Linked DNA regions of Homo sapiens: regions 2, 3 and 4 are each linked to region 1. Evidence: promoter capture Hi-C in 16 types of primary human blood cells and fetal thymus (Javierre and others, 2016). All regions are on one chromosome and are shown on one strand. Each heading gives the region's core, a stretch centred on a gene start or on the middle of the fragment in contact. The rest is flanking DNA. Distances are from core to core; before and after follow the strand shown.

What was found. Contacts are between HindIII fragments. The CHiCAGO score rates a contact against its expected background, and 5 or more counts as called.
Region 2: a contact is called between a fragment that was not itself captured here and the fragment with the promoter of IL2 in region 1, in 1 of 17 cell types (endothelial precursors). The highest score is 6.0, in endothelial precursors.
Region 3: a fragment that was not itself captured here is called in contact with the fragment with the promoter of IL2 in region 1 in 1 of 17 cell types (endothelial precursors); the score reaches 5.9 in endothelial precursors.
Region 4: a contact is called between a fragment that was not itself captured here and the fragment with the promoter of IL2 in region 1, in 1 of 17 cell types (endothelial precursors). The highest score is 6.6, in endothelial precursors.

What each region holds. Positions count from the first base shown.
Region 1 is chr4:122,455,390-122,458,444 of GRCh38, forward strand. IL2 (interleukin 2) reads right to left here and starts at 1,336. Exons shown (of 4, transcript NM_000586.4): 1 at 905-1,336; 2 at 755-814. The coding sequence starts at 1,051. The HindIII fragment of the contact is 2,130 bases long and covers 1-2,111 here.
Region 2 is chr4:121,880,812-121,883,777 of GRCh38, forward strand. TRPC3 (transient receptor potential cation channel subfamily C member 3) reads right to left here. Exons shown (of 12, transcript NM_001130698.2): 11 at 1,543-1,618. Among named protein-coding and RNA genes, the nearest start is that of BBS7-DT, 12 kb to the left of the region's middle. The HindIII fragment of the contact is 810 bases long and covers 1,040-1,849 here.
Region 3 is chr4:121,937,686-121,940,937 of GRCh38, forward strand. All of the region lies in intron 1 of TRPC3 (transient receptor potential cation channel subfamily C member 3), which reads right to left. Among named protein-coding and RNA genes, the nearest start is that of TRPC3, 13 kb to the right of the region's middle. The HindIII fragment of the contact is 2,322 bases long and covers 716-3,037 here.
Region 4 is chr4:121,919,181-121,922,530 of GRCh38, forward strand. The region is part of intron 3 of TRPC3 (transient receptor potential cation channel subfamily C member 3); the gene reads right to left. Among named protein-coding and RNA genes, the nearest start is that of TRPC3, 31 kb to the right of the region's middle. The HindIII fragment of the contact is 5,563 bases long and covers 1-3,350 here.

The sequences.
Region 1 (3,055 bases), core at 86-2,585:
TAAGTCATATAGCATTATAAATCTCAAGTTCTATTGGTAAAAAGATAAAGTCCAAAATTTTACTTTGTATTTCTCAGTGAAAATTTTATCTTTAATACTACTAATAATAGCTAATGCTTGTATGGTATTTACCTTATGCCAGACACGGTTCTGAGTGCTTTACATTTACTTACTAATTCTCACAAAGCCATATTAAGTATATACAGTTATTCATTTAAGTAGACATGAAACTGAATCACAAACAGAGTAGGTAATTTGCCAAAGATCATGAAAGCTAGGACATGGCAGAGCTGAGATTTCACTTCAGATATCTGGCCCCAGACTCTGTGCTATTAGTGTTATGCTGCCTCTCACTTAGAAACCTTTCCTAAAACAAGAAAAGATTTTTAAAAGTGGGCTCCTTGGAAATAGATTTTGGTATTTTACATACTAAAATGACATAATCAAATATTTTAGAGTTTTACATTTTTAAATGAAACCATAAATGAACATTTTTGTTTAGAATTGTCTTATCGATAAAGTGAGAATATTATTTTTATGTTTTCTTCCCACCCCCACCAACACACAAATATATATTAAAAATATAGGTAAAACTGTTTTAATAGAGGCTTCATTATCAAACTTGGGTTTTCAAAAAAACAAATTAAAGTTACTCTTTACCTCAGATGAGCTGCTATTAGTCCCATCTGTGCAAATTTTCATATTACTTTGAATTTTATTAAAACAGAAATTGAACATAAAATATTGTACTTACCTTCTTGGGCATGTAAAACTTAAATGTGAGCATCCTGGTGAGTTTGGGATTCTTGTAATTCTAAGAAAGTATAATGCATTGTTATTAAGAAATGATCTCCAGCTAGATTACTAAATGTAATAATTTTAGTAAGAAAGGAAATATACTTACATTAATTCCATTCAAAATCATCTGTAAATCCAGCAGTAAATGCTCCAGTTGTAGCTGTGTTTTCTTTGTAGAACTTGAAGTAGGTGCACTGTTTGTGACAAGTGCAAGACTTAGTGCAATGCAAGACAGGAGTTGCATCCTGTACATTGTGGCAGGAGTTGAGGTTACTGTGAGTAGTGATTAAAGAGAGTGATAGGGAACTCTTGAACAAGAGATGCAATTTATACTGTTAATTCTGGAAAAATATTATGGGGGTGTCAAAATGTTTTACATATTACACATATTTTCAAAGACTTTACCTGTCTGAAAAAACATTACCTTCATTTTTCCTCTTCTGATGACTCTTTGGAATTTCTTTAAACCCCCAAAGACTGACTGAATGGATGTAGGTGAAATCCCTCTTTGTTACATTAGCCCACACTTAGGTGATAGCTCTAATTCATGCAATTAACGCCTTCTGTATGAAACAGTTTTTCCTCCTTTCTTTAAGGGGGTGGGGATACAAAAGTAACTCAGAAAATTTTCTTTGTCATAAAACTACACTGAACATGTGAATAGCATATTGTGGTGGACAAGAGCAAGAGTAAACAGATGAAAAGAATAAATGTTTAGATTTGTTGATAAAACAGGAAGTGTATTGGTTTCCTGTTTCAGAATGGTTTTACCTTTTTATCCACACAATGAGCTAATTGCATACAATAAGATAGATTGCTTCTTACATGTCAGCTAGAGAAATACTAAGATTAGAATACTTAAAATGCTTATTGAGCTTGAGGTACTGTTTAACGCTATTTTAATTTAAAATGATTATATATCTGTTTAAGTCTCTTAATGTCTATTGTACATTTTTTAAAGGGTGCGATTGTTAAATACTCAGAAAAAGGTTTGCATTCAAGGATACTGATGCTAGTTTTATAATAGACTTTGTATGTGTTATGTGTAAACCAGTCCATGTTTCTCGTTTTTATGTCTTTACCTCTTTAATGGATTTTTATTTATCCTCTAAATCACCTGGGACACTATGAATGTAACAATAATCGTTATGAAATATGATCTTGTTTTTAGTCAGAAGACTAGGATATTTAGGATAGGTGTTCATTCATCCTCAGTACAGTGCACAAACTGGCTGAACAATTGTACGGATATATACTTCTAATTTAACCTGGGGACACTTGAGGAGATCCTGTCTCAGAGAGAGTCCTTGTAAAGCTTCCATTCTATGGCCTTATTTATTTCTTACCTGGACTTTTTTTTTTTTTTTAAAGATGGTATTGTCTGTGTTTTTGTTTGTTTTTTTAAGACAATATTGTCTGGTCTTTAAACAGACATCTAGCACCTATAATGCCTTCAGGTATATAGAAAGAGAGAAAAGAGAACAGTGTACAGGCAGGCACTTAGTCTAATATAAGTCTTACAGACTTGTGAAGTGATGGCTCCTATTTTGCAGATTAGAAAACTGAGGCTCAGAGAAGTTAAGTAATTTGCTCTAGGTCACTCAGCCCTTATTGCCAGTAAGGGGCAGAAGAAGGATTTGAAAAGAGAATGTTCTGACTCCAAAAATCCACTCTCTTACCATTTGTATTTTTTCAAAGAACCTGATTTGTAATAGGGAAGATATGTACATACACAAGTGTAGTCCTGGGTGATAGGTGATTGCTGCCCCAAGGGAGGTGGATATAAGGAATCTTGAATAAGGAACAATTAATTTAAACTGGATTTTGAGGAGGGTGCATAGGCAGGAATGATTAAAGCAGTCTAAGGAACAGTCAAATGTAATATTTTACAAAGAACAGAGAAAAATGGTTCAATAAGAGTTTTCTATGCGTTAGGTAATGTTCGGAGAATATAAAACAAATTTAAAAATAAAGATTATAGTCCCTCAAGTAGAAAAAAAAATGAAGAAAAGGTCAGATTAGGGCCAAATCTCATGAACTTTTTATACGAAAAAATGCAAAATGTCTCTATACATTTCAGATCAAAATCACATTAACGCTGTTATAAGGGGCAGGCTATTTGGTAGTCTGTGTGTTATTTATTTAATATAATAAAGTACAGCTTTATTATACTTGTTTTGCTTCTCTAAAGAGTTTCAGTGTCTAATCCCAGCATCATCACTCAGGCCTTTACCCTTCCAGAATGGAAGAATTCAAG
Region 2 (2,966 bases), core at 195-2,694, 570 kb before region 1:
ACCTTTGATGATATTTCCTGGTATCTTTAATATGCTTTAAAGTATAATTTCAATATTCTTCTATTATATAAAAGTCAGAGCATTTTTATTTGAAAAGAATTCTAACTCAGGAATACACACAAAACATTTGAGGAGCCCTTTTGTGGCAAAAAAAAAAAAAAGTGCTTCCTTTGGCATATGGCAATATAAAAGGAATAAACTGATCTTATTTGAAATCATGAGGCAGACTTCAGTGGAAGGAGTGGATTCTCACACCATTCAGTACCGCAGGAGACCCCCTGCCCTACTTCACCTTCTACTATCCTTTCTTCCTTGTCCCCGACTCATGGGGAGACTACAACCTATGTGTTGTATTAAATATTTAATCTGCCAATTCAGGAAACACAAGTTACTCAAACTCTTCAGATTTTAGTTTCCTCATTAATTAAATGAGGAGATTATATGACACATTTTCTTAGTAAGAACTTTGTTCAAAACTCCAAATTCTCATTGATTTTCCCCTTTTGTGCAAGGGCTTGGGAAATGCTTCTTGTTTTTTATGCCGTTTTAGCCATACAGTTCTTCCCACTTTGTTCCTCCCTCTCCACCCCCCATGGAGATTACGGTACAACTCATCAGACTTCTGCTTTCTAAACTACAACCTCATTCCAATCCTTTCTCCTGAGACAGATTGATTAGGTCACCATGATTAGATTTTTGCTAGTTATCGATTATAAATTCACAGGTTTCTCTTCTACATACATACACTATTGGATTGATTTACATTTAAAATGCATTCCTTGTATTAATCAAGTAATGGCTTCAAAGCCTATGAACAATTTTATTAAGTTTAGTCCTTTCCTCTTTTATCAGTGTAGATAGATTTAGTGGCATCTCATTGGTGTTGGAAGGTACAGTTTCCATTTTTAGGGCAACTTATTTCTCCCTGGTTGATTTCTTTCCAACTCTGGGCCTGTGTTTAGCTCTACATCCTAGACTTTGGTAAAAAATTTTTATAGTCCAGAGAGATGCCCTGCCTCAAATATGCCTTAAAAAAATAAGCTTGCTTAAAGTAAGGAGGCAGGGGGGAAAGTGAAATTCAAAAGAGACGCACCAGACAAGAAAAACAGGTTAAAAATGTGTTTCTGAACAATAAAACAGAGGTTTTCCTGAAGACATGAATTCTGTTTGAGTCACTGTTCTTTTATCTGCTTAACTGGAAAAATGTTAACACTAATGTGAACTCATTGAAAATGTAACCAATACTTACTGACTACCTTATGTCAGAAGGATTAAAAAACTCCTAGAAAGATGTCAGTCTTTACATTCTAAGAATCAGTTAGGGCACTATGAGTAGAGATAAATTGCCTCTGATCAATATTGTAAATAACTGTTTATTTTAAAAGATGAAGTTTTAGAAACGTAACATAAGATCCTCCTCCCATCTTAGAGGCATCCAAACTATAACCTGGGATTGGATTTTTAAAATATGCCTCAACATTAAGTTTTCCAGGTTCATTAAGTTAGCTATAAAAGGATATTTTTTAAGTTGGAGATGCTTACCTTCATTAACTTCATCATTTTCTTTGTCTACTTGTGCTTTCAAAACATACCGCTTTATAAGTCTTTTCATTATCTGCTGTTGGGCAAAAGTAAATGATTAGATCTCCAATGATATACATAAGTGCCCCAATCCTATTTTCCAAAGAGGCTTACATACCTGTAAAGCAAACAACTCAGGGGAGAAAAAAATTTTATAACTATGTATAGAAAAATTACGCAGGTTTCAGAACTTAACTCTCTTAATGCCTTCTACTGAGACTTACTGCATAATCCACCAATACTTTTTTTTTGCCTCAGAAACGGAAGAAGCTTTTAAAAAGAAGTTAAGCTTGAAGATTTGAATTCATGGCTCCTCTTTCAACTAATAGTTTCTTTTTAAATTACATTGACACCACATTATCACCCATAGACACTACCTTATTTCCCAGTATTTAGAAAAATACATCAATGTATACTCTATATAGAGAATTTGGAAAATATACAGAAGAACAAAATAAACAAATGAAATCATTGGCAACCTCACCAGCCAAAGATAATCACTGTTTTCATTTTGGTGTATGCCCTTCCAATATCTTTTCTTTAAAATTTGTATATATACTAATTACTGTAAGTATTATATTTTATGTTTTCTAAATGCCATATATTTTGTTATATTGCATACGTTTCTCTAATAGCAATATATGTGACTATTTTCAGTCTAAATAAATGCTCTTCTAGGATAACTGTTTACCCATATGGAAAAAATTAAATTGGAGCCCTATTTCATACCATGAACACAAAAATTAATTCCATTTGCATCTTAAATGTGAAAGACAAAGCTTCTGAACCCTTAAAAGAACGTATTATATAAGAGAGTATATTTATAAATTTGGGGTAGACCTGTATTTTTAAAAAAACAAGATTAAAACTTCTGATTACAATAGAAAAGACTGATAAATTCAACTTCATTACAATTTAAAATTTCTGTTTAAAGAGATACTATAAAGAAAGTGAAAAGGCAAGCCATAAACTGGGAGAAAATATTGGTAATGCTTGTAATTAAAAATAATTTATATCCAAATATATAAAGAACTTTAATTCAATAAGAAAAACTCAAATAACCCGATTTTAAAATGGGCAAAAGACAAACAAATGTTTCACAGAAATGGAAACGTGAAGGGTCAACAAGCTTAAGAAACAATTTCAAACTCTGTTGCAGGGAAATACAAATTATGACTAAAAGGAGACACAATTTTACATCTAATAAAGAGAACGATTAATAAATCTGGTTATGCCAAGTGTTAGAAAGGATATGGATCAATGGGGACTTTTATATTTTACTGGCAAGACTGCAGACAACTTTGAAGACAATTTAGTACTATCTTTTTAGTTTTTAAATTGATTTCTATTAACAAAATTTTAGAGGTGGAGTCTCACTATATTGC
Region 3 (3,252 bases), core at 627-3,126, 520 kb before region 1:
GAATTGCAAATCAAGAAGCCTCTCTCTTCAGATAAGTTTTTGTCCTTTAATCTAAAAATAAAAACTGTATAACCCTCACTCCCCTGCCCCTCTCTTAGGGGGACTGCTCAATTGTTATTACTATCTTATTTCACATTTCTGGCACAGTCTTTCTCCTTTTTTAAATTATTTCTCACACAGATTTAAAACCAAATATCCTATATTCCATGTGTTTTAAACCTGTTTTAAGTTATTTGAGACAGAGTCTTACTCTGTCACCCAGGCTGGAGTGTAGTGGGAGGATCTCGGCTCGCTGCAACTTCTGCCTCCCGGGCTCAAGTGTCTGAATTTATTTAAAAAAAAAAAAACAACCCAGAGTATTAAGAAATACCCTCTCATATATGCCTCTACTGTACACGTTCATAGATAGTACAGTCATGTTTTATTTATCATTATCCACAGAGTTCTACCCAGTGCCCCATAGAAAATAAATATCAATAAATATCTGTTTAGTTGAGTTTCTAAATCTCTTCCTAGATCCCATCCTCTCACCTGACCTCAGGTCCCACATATACTGTGGTCTATCACCTGGTTACTCTAAAATGCCCCAACTCACCTTCTTCCTTAAAGCAGCTCCCACTCCTAACATTTGTATCTCAGGCTGATTATTCAGGTTTAGAAATTTCAAGGTCATCTATGACTCACTGTTTTGATCATGTCAGTCACAAAGTTCTAAAGCTTCTGCTTTGGAATGTTTCTTGTACTGAATGCTTCCTTCCAATTCTCATTGCCAGCACCAGCCTCCAGATCTTTATCAAGTCATAGCTGGGTTGTTGTAACAGCTTCCCAGCAGAGATGGCATGAAGGAAGGCAACTAAACTTTTCTGAGCACCTCATATGTATGTAATGTTTTCAATGCACTATCATATTTAACTCTCATAACAATACCACGAAGCAGGTATAATTTTCTCTGTTTCATAGATAACAAAACTGAGCTCAAATGAAATTGCCAAAGATAACACAAATGGTAAAATAACGAAGAACTGGGATTCAACCTGGAATCTGTCTGACTCTTATTTTCCATTGCCTCAGGCTGTACCTGATTCTCCTCTTTACACATGACAACTATGCCCAGCATCTTGCTGTTCATAAACTCTGTTTTCACCATATCACACTTCTCTTTAAAAAAAAAAACCAAAACAGGAAACCATCAGTAACACCCCTACTGCTCTTTTCATCAGTCGAGACTCGTCTGTATGACTTTCAGGGATGGTGACAGCCCACCCCACCCTGCCTAGCCAACCTTCCTTCCCTTGTTCCCCAGATTCATTCTTCACTATCCTGTAAACATATTATTCTGCCATTTCTGTACTGTCAAGGGGTACTCCCGTACTATTAAGGACATTTGTTGAAAATATATTAAGGTGCTCTTCTTTTTTGCCTTTTCAAATACAGGATCTTTGCCCTGGTTGACTCAGGACATCTCTGCCTGGAGGGTGGGTGGTGCAGTATAGAGTTGGGTGGGTGTGTTCAAGGGGAGTTCGAGAAGATACATTTTACAGGAGTGAAAAGAAAAGGATCATGGAGAAGTTCAGATTCTTACAAGCAAAAAATTATGGGATTTTTGTATTTTTATGAATGATTTTGAGGATTTTGCAAGCAGAATTTGAGAAAAGGGAAACTGTCTAATGAAAAGATTTTCTCAATTCCTTTATTCCTCTAATTCATCCTGAAGGACCCTGATCATAAAGTGCTCTCATTATGCAGACAAGATAGCTCTCCCACTTCTGACAGCAAAGCCGTGATGCTTACTGTCCTGGGAGGACAAATAAATAACAGAAGGGAAGTAAAAGTCAAGATGTGGATTCAATAAGGTGAGGAAGTACCTTAAGTACTGGTTAAGTAATGGAATGATATGGGAAAAGCAAAGAGCTTTCTCAAGCCACCCTCAGCTCCTCTGTGGTGTGGACACTGCTATGAGAGCCAGGTAGCCTGCACTAAGGCTTGGGACAGATTGCTGGTGCTGTAAGCTGGATGGAAGATGTTGCAGGTGCTGGGATTTGTAGCAGTGGGAGCTGAGCTGAAACCAAGTACTTGAGGGAGCATATCTGGGTTTCTAACAAAAGAAAGTCAGCCAAGATCCAGTTACTTCTGCTGACAAGCAGCACTCAAGTAGACATAGAACAGTGCCCAGAGACCAGAAGAGTTAGAGGACACTAACTCTTTCCCCCTCCAGGGACACATAAGCTCCCCTCCCCCAAGGGCCAGATGTGACAGAGAAGAGCAGGGGAAAGGGTAGTTCCCGAGAGCCTGAGCAAGTTTATCCAAATAAACATTTACTTTATAGTATCGAACTAAGATAAAAGAGGTCAGCCTCCCGGCCTCTTTCTGCAGTGTGCTGAATGCTGGTAGACAGACAGGCCACTGAGACTCTGAGCCCTTTAGAAGATTGGGGGACAAGAATCAGAAAGCAAAAGCCCCTTCCACACCGGCTCAAGACGTGGGGAGACACTGTCCTAACTGACCAAATCCCTGCCAAATGTAGAGCAAGCCTTCCCTCCTTGTCAATTCACGTAACTGCTTAATTGCTTAATTGACTTAATTGCCTAATTTATTGATTGCACTATTCACTTGTTGAGTGTCTGTGTAGTAAGCAAAAACAAAACAAAATTTAAAACACTAATGTGAACCACAGATTGGGCATTTAATGTTTTCTCTCCTACTCAGTAAGTGGGAGGCTCAGGAGACAGACTTTTGTTGCAGGCAGATTACAGGAGCTACACGTTGCTGCCCATCCAAGTTGTGAGTGATTTCTTGACCCTTTTACACCTACCTCCAGGATGTTCCTCTTATGTTTCCCTCTCTGAACACACTGTTATTTCTGCTCTTTGCCAATTCAAATCCTTCTTACCATCAGTGGTCCAGTTTACATTACACTTCTGTATACAGAGGGTCACGTTTCACAGGGCAATGCCGATATGACCCACAAGATTCTGTTCAGTATGAAATGTTGGGTCTTTTGATCCTTTCTGAAGCCATTCCTGACCACTTCAGCCCAAGCTTTTGTAATATAGGTAGTCTACTCATAAATATAGACACTTAATTTTACCTCATCTCCTTGATTTTTGTCTCCTTGATTATTGTCTCCTGTGACAATCATGTCCTCAGTTCAATTGAGGATAAATGTTTTATGTGCCTTATCTTATGTTTTATTCTTGACATATTATCTCTACTGTACCTAATACAATGTAGTATATGTTCAAAAATACTTGG
Region 4 (3,350 bases), core at 126-2,625, 540 kb before region 1:
AACCACTGATCAGGGCAGGCTAGGGAAAACAATCAAATTTTAAACTTAAAAATTAATTCATGTTACACTGTTTTTCATCAAATCAGCCTTCACAAGAACTGTCTTCATGGGAATACTGTTGTGTAAAATCATGGTAGGAACTCTGGATTTGTTTTTAATGATACTGTTAGAGCCACAATTCATACAATTTAAAGGAACATATTCTTGTAAATAAAAACTAGGCAATTCAACTTCTTTTAAAAACTCAATGACTTGTGAAATATAAACCTAAAACTTATATTGCACAGGTTTTCTGGATTTTCAAACTTGCTGAGTGCAAAATGCTCTGTTATCTCTTGGTGCCTGGGGAAGACCAGGACAAGAGGCCACACAGTGCAGGACACAGGACTGTGCCGGCCAGCACACCCGTTCCAACGTCTCAGTGGTGTATTTACCACTCTCTCATTGCATTTCTTTAATTCTGGGCTTCCCCTGCACACTTTTTGCACAGAAAGTGGATACACAATGGATGCTTTTATCCTGTTTATACTGCTGCATGTTTCTTTTTAGGATGGCTTTTCTACATTTAAATCTAATCCTACTATGGAGGAAATATTAATAGGAGAGCAGAAACGAAGAACTCAGGAAATGTTCTCCTTCTCTTTCTGAGAGCCCAGTTTTCCAGATTCAGTGGTCTACCAAGCTCTAGTATCTTTTGTCAAAAACTTTCTCAAAATAGACATAGCTCACGGTGAAGTAGGTAGAACTTTGGTTATTTCTATGGTGGGGAGTGGATTAATGTTCAGCTGCACATCACAGAGCAGGATAGAGGTAGAGTCAGAATTAGAACTCAAGACTTTTGGTGGGGGGCAAATAGTCCATTATTCTAATTAAACAAAATTAGTGTTTTTGCCTAAAATTTAATTTTCTTGTACCCATTTTCAGAAAATCAAATTTCATCTTCCAGTGTATTCCATTCTCTTTTCAAAGAATAATATAGGTATTTCTATAAATAGTAATAGTGTTCACTATCCTTCCAGTTTTAAAATTTACCTTACAGACCCCTTAAAAATGATTTTAGGCTGGACGCAGTGGCTCACACCTATAATCCTAGCACTCTGAGAGGCTGAGGTGGGCGGATCACTTGAGGTCAGGAGTTCAAGACCAGCCTGGCCAACATGGTAAAACCCCGTCTCTACTAAAAAAACAAAAAATTAGCCAGGCATGGATGATGGGTGCCTGTAATCCCAGCTACTCGGGAGGCTGAGGCAGGAAAATTGCTTGAACCTGGGAGGTGGAGGTTGCAGTGAGCCAAGATCTCGCCACTGCACTCAAGCCTGGGAGACAGAGTGAGACTCCATTTCAAAAAAAAGAAAAAAAAACAGATTTTAGGATGAATAATCTTCAAAATCCATTCCCTGTTAGTAAAGATGCAGGCAGATGGTTGCTCTTTTACTATCAGCATTGAGAATTGTAAATTTTTATTCTTTGTTAGTTTAAGAGAAGGAAAATGGTATTTGTACATTAGTATACGTTTATCACTAAAAGGTCTGAAAATTTTAAATATGCATGTTAGCCATTTGAATTTTCTCTTCTGTGACATGCCTATTCAAATCTTTTGCTGATTTTTCTACAGGGCCCTGGATGTTTTCCTTACAAATTTGTTTGAGTTCTTGGGATATTAAGAAGATCAATCTTTTGTGAGATACAATCGAAAAAACATTTTTCCTAGTATGCCCTTCACTTTTTTGTTTATAATCTTTCTGATGTCATACAGAGGTTTTAAATTATATGTGGCCAGATTATTTGCATTTTTGCTTGGAGATTTCTTCGCTTTTATATGAGAAAGTCCTTTCCAACATAAACATTAAATTCACGGTCATGTATCTCCTATTCTGGTGTTTTATATATTCATTTTCTGGATTAACTGTCCTTGAGTTCTGTAAGGCCTGTGTTGAACTCATGCCTTGATTTCTAGGAAAGACCAGATCTCTGGGAATCCTGAGCCCAGTTAGAAGACAATAGACTCAGAACCAGAGCTGGGAGTAGGTCTTGGGCAGAGGGTAGAAAAAAGACTTCCTGGCCGGGCGCGGTGGCTCACGCCTGTAATCCCAGCACTTTGGGAGGCCGAGGCGGGCGGATCACGAGGTCAGGAGATCGAGACCATCCCGGCTAAAACGGTGAAACCCCGTCTCTACTAAAAATACAAAAAATTAGCCGGGCGTAGTGGCGGGCGCCTGTAGTCCCAGCTACTTGGGAGGCTGAGGCAGGAGAATGGCGTGAACCCGGGAGGCGGAGCTTGCAGTGAGCCGAGATCGCGCCACTGCACTCCAGCCTGGGCGACAGAGCGAGACTCCGTCTCAAAAAAAAAAAAAAAAAAAAAAAGACTTCCTGAGTCTCATATGCGGCCAATATTGGCTTACAATTAGATAAGAATGGTTTCCTTGGTGGAATTATGGGTTGATTTGAATAAATATGAGTTTATTATGTTATCAGGGGGTGGGGGAGTCCATAACATATAAAGTTACTTTGAAATCCCAATGGCTTGCATATGGCTGTGGACTACCTCTGTGCCAGAGTGGGCAGGGTTTGTGCATCATTATAACCCAAGACGTGGTTTTGCTTGGAGACTAGAAATGAGATGGTGGGAAAAGGAAGCAGCAGGAGTGGGTGGGGTGATATTTTTCCTCCTGTGAGAATGAAGATGGGTGAGTGTTGACTGAAAACGAAGGAAGCCTTTGTTTTTTGGGTTTTTTTTTGTTTTTTTTTTTTTTTTCGAGTCGGAGTCTCGCTCTGTCGCCCAGGCTGCAGTGCAGTGGCGTGATCTTGGCTCACTACAAGCTCCGCCTTCCGGGTTCATGACATTCTCCTGCCTCAGCCTCCCTAGTAGCTGCAACTACAGGTGCCTGCCACCACGCCCGTCTAATTTTTTTGTATGTTTTTTAGTAGAGACAGGGTTTCACCATGTTAGCCAGGATGGTCTCGATCTCCTGACCTCGTGATCCACCTGCCTCGGCCCCCCAAAGTGCTGGGATTACAGGTGTGAGCCACCGTGCCCGGCCATGAAGGAAGCCTTTGAAAGGAAGAAAGAAAGGAGAAATTGGGGCTTTGCAAGTATTCTAGAATAGAATTCTTACACACATTTATTATTCTAGAACAGAATTCTTACATACATTTATTATTCTAGAATAGAATTCTTACATACAGTTATTGAGTGAAGATTCCAAATCAAAGACTCTAATTAATACTCCTTTTATAGCATAAAACAAACAAAACCAGAAGTTTGCAAAAGTCCTAAATCTCCTTACAGTTCTAACTTTTTTGTTGTTGCCTGATGGTTGACTGATACCAATTTATTACTAACGACACCT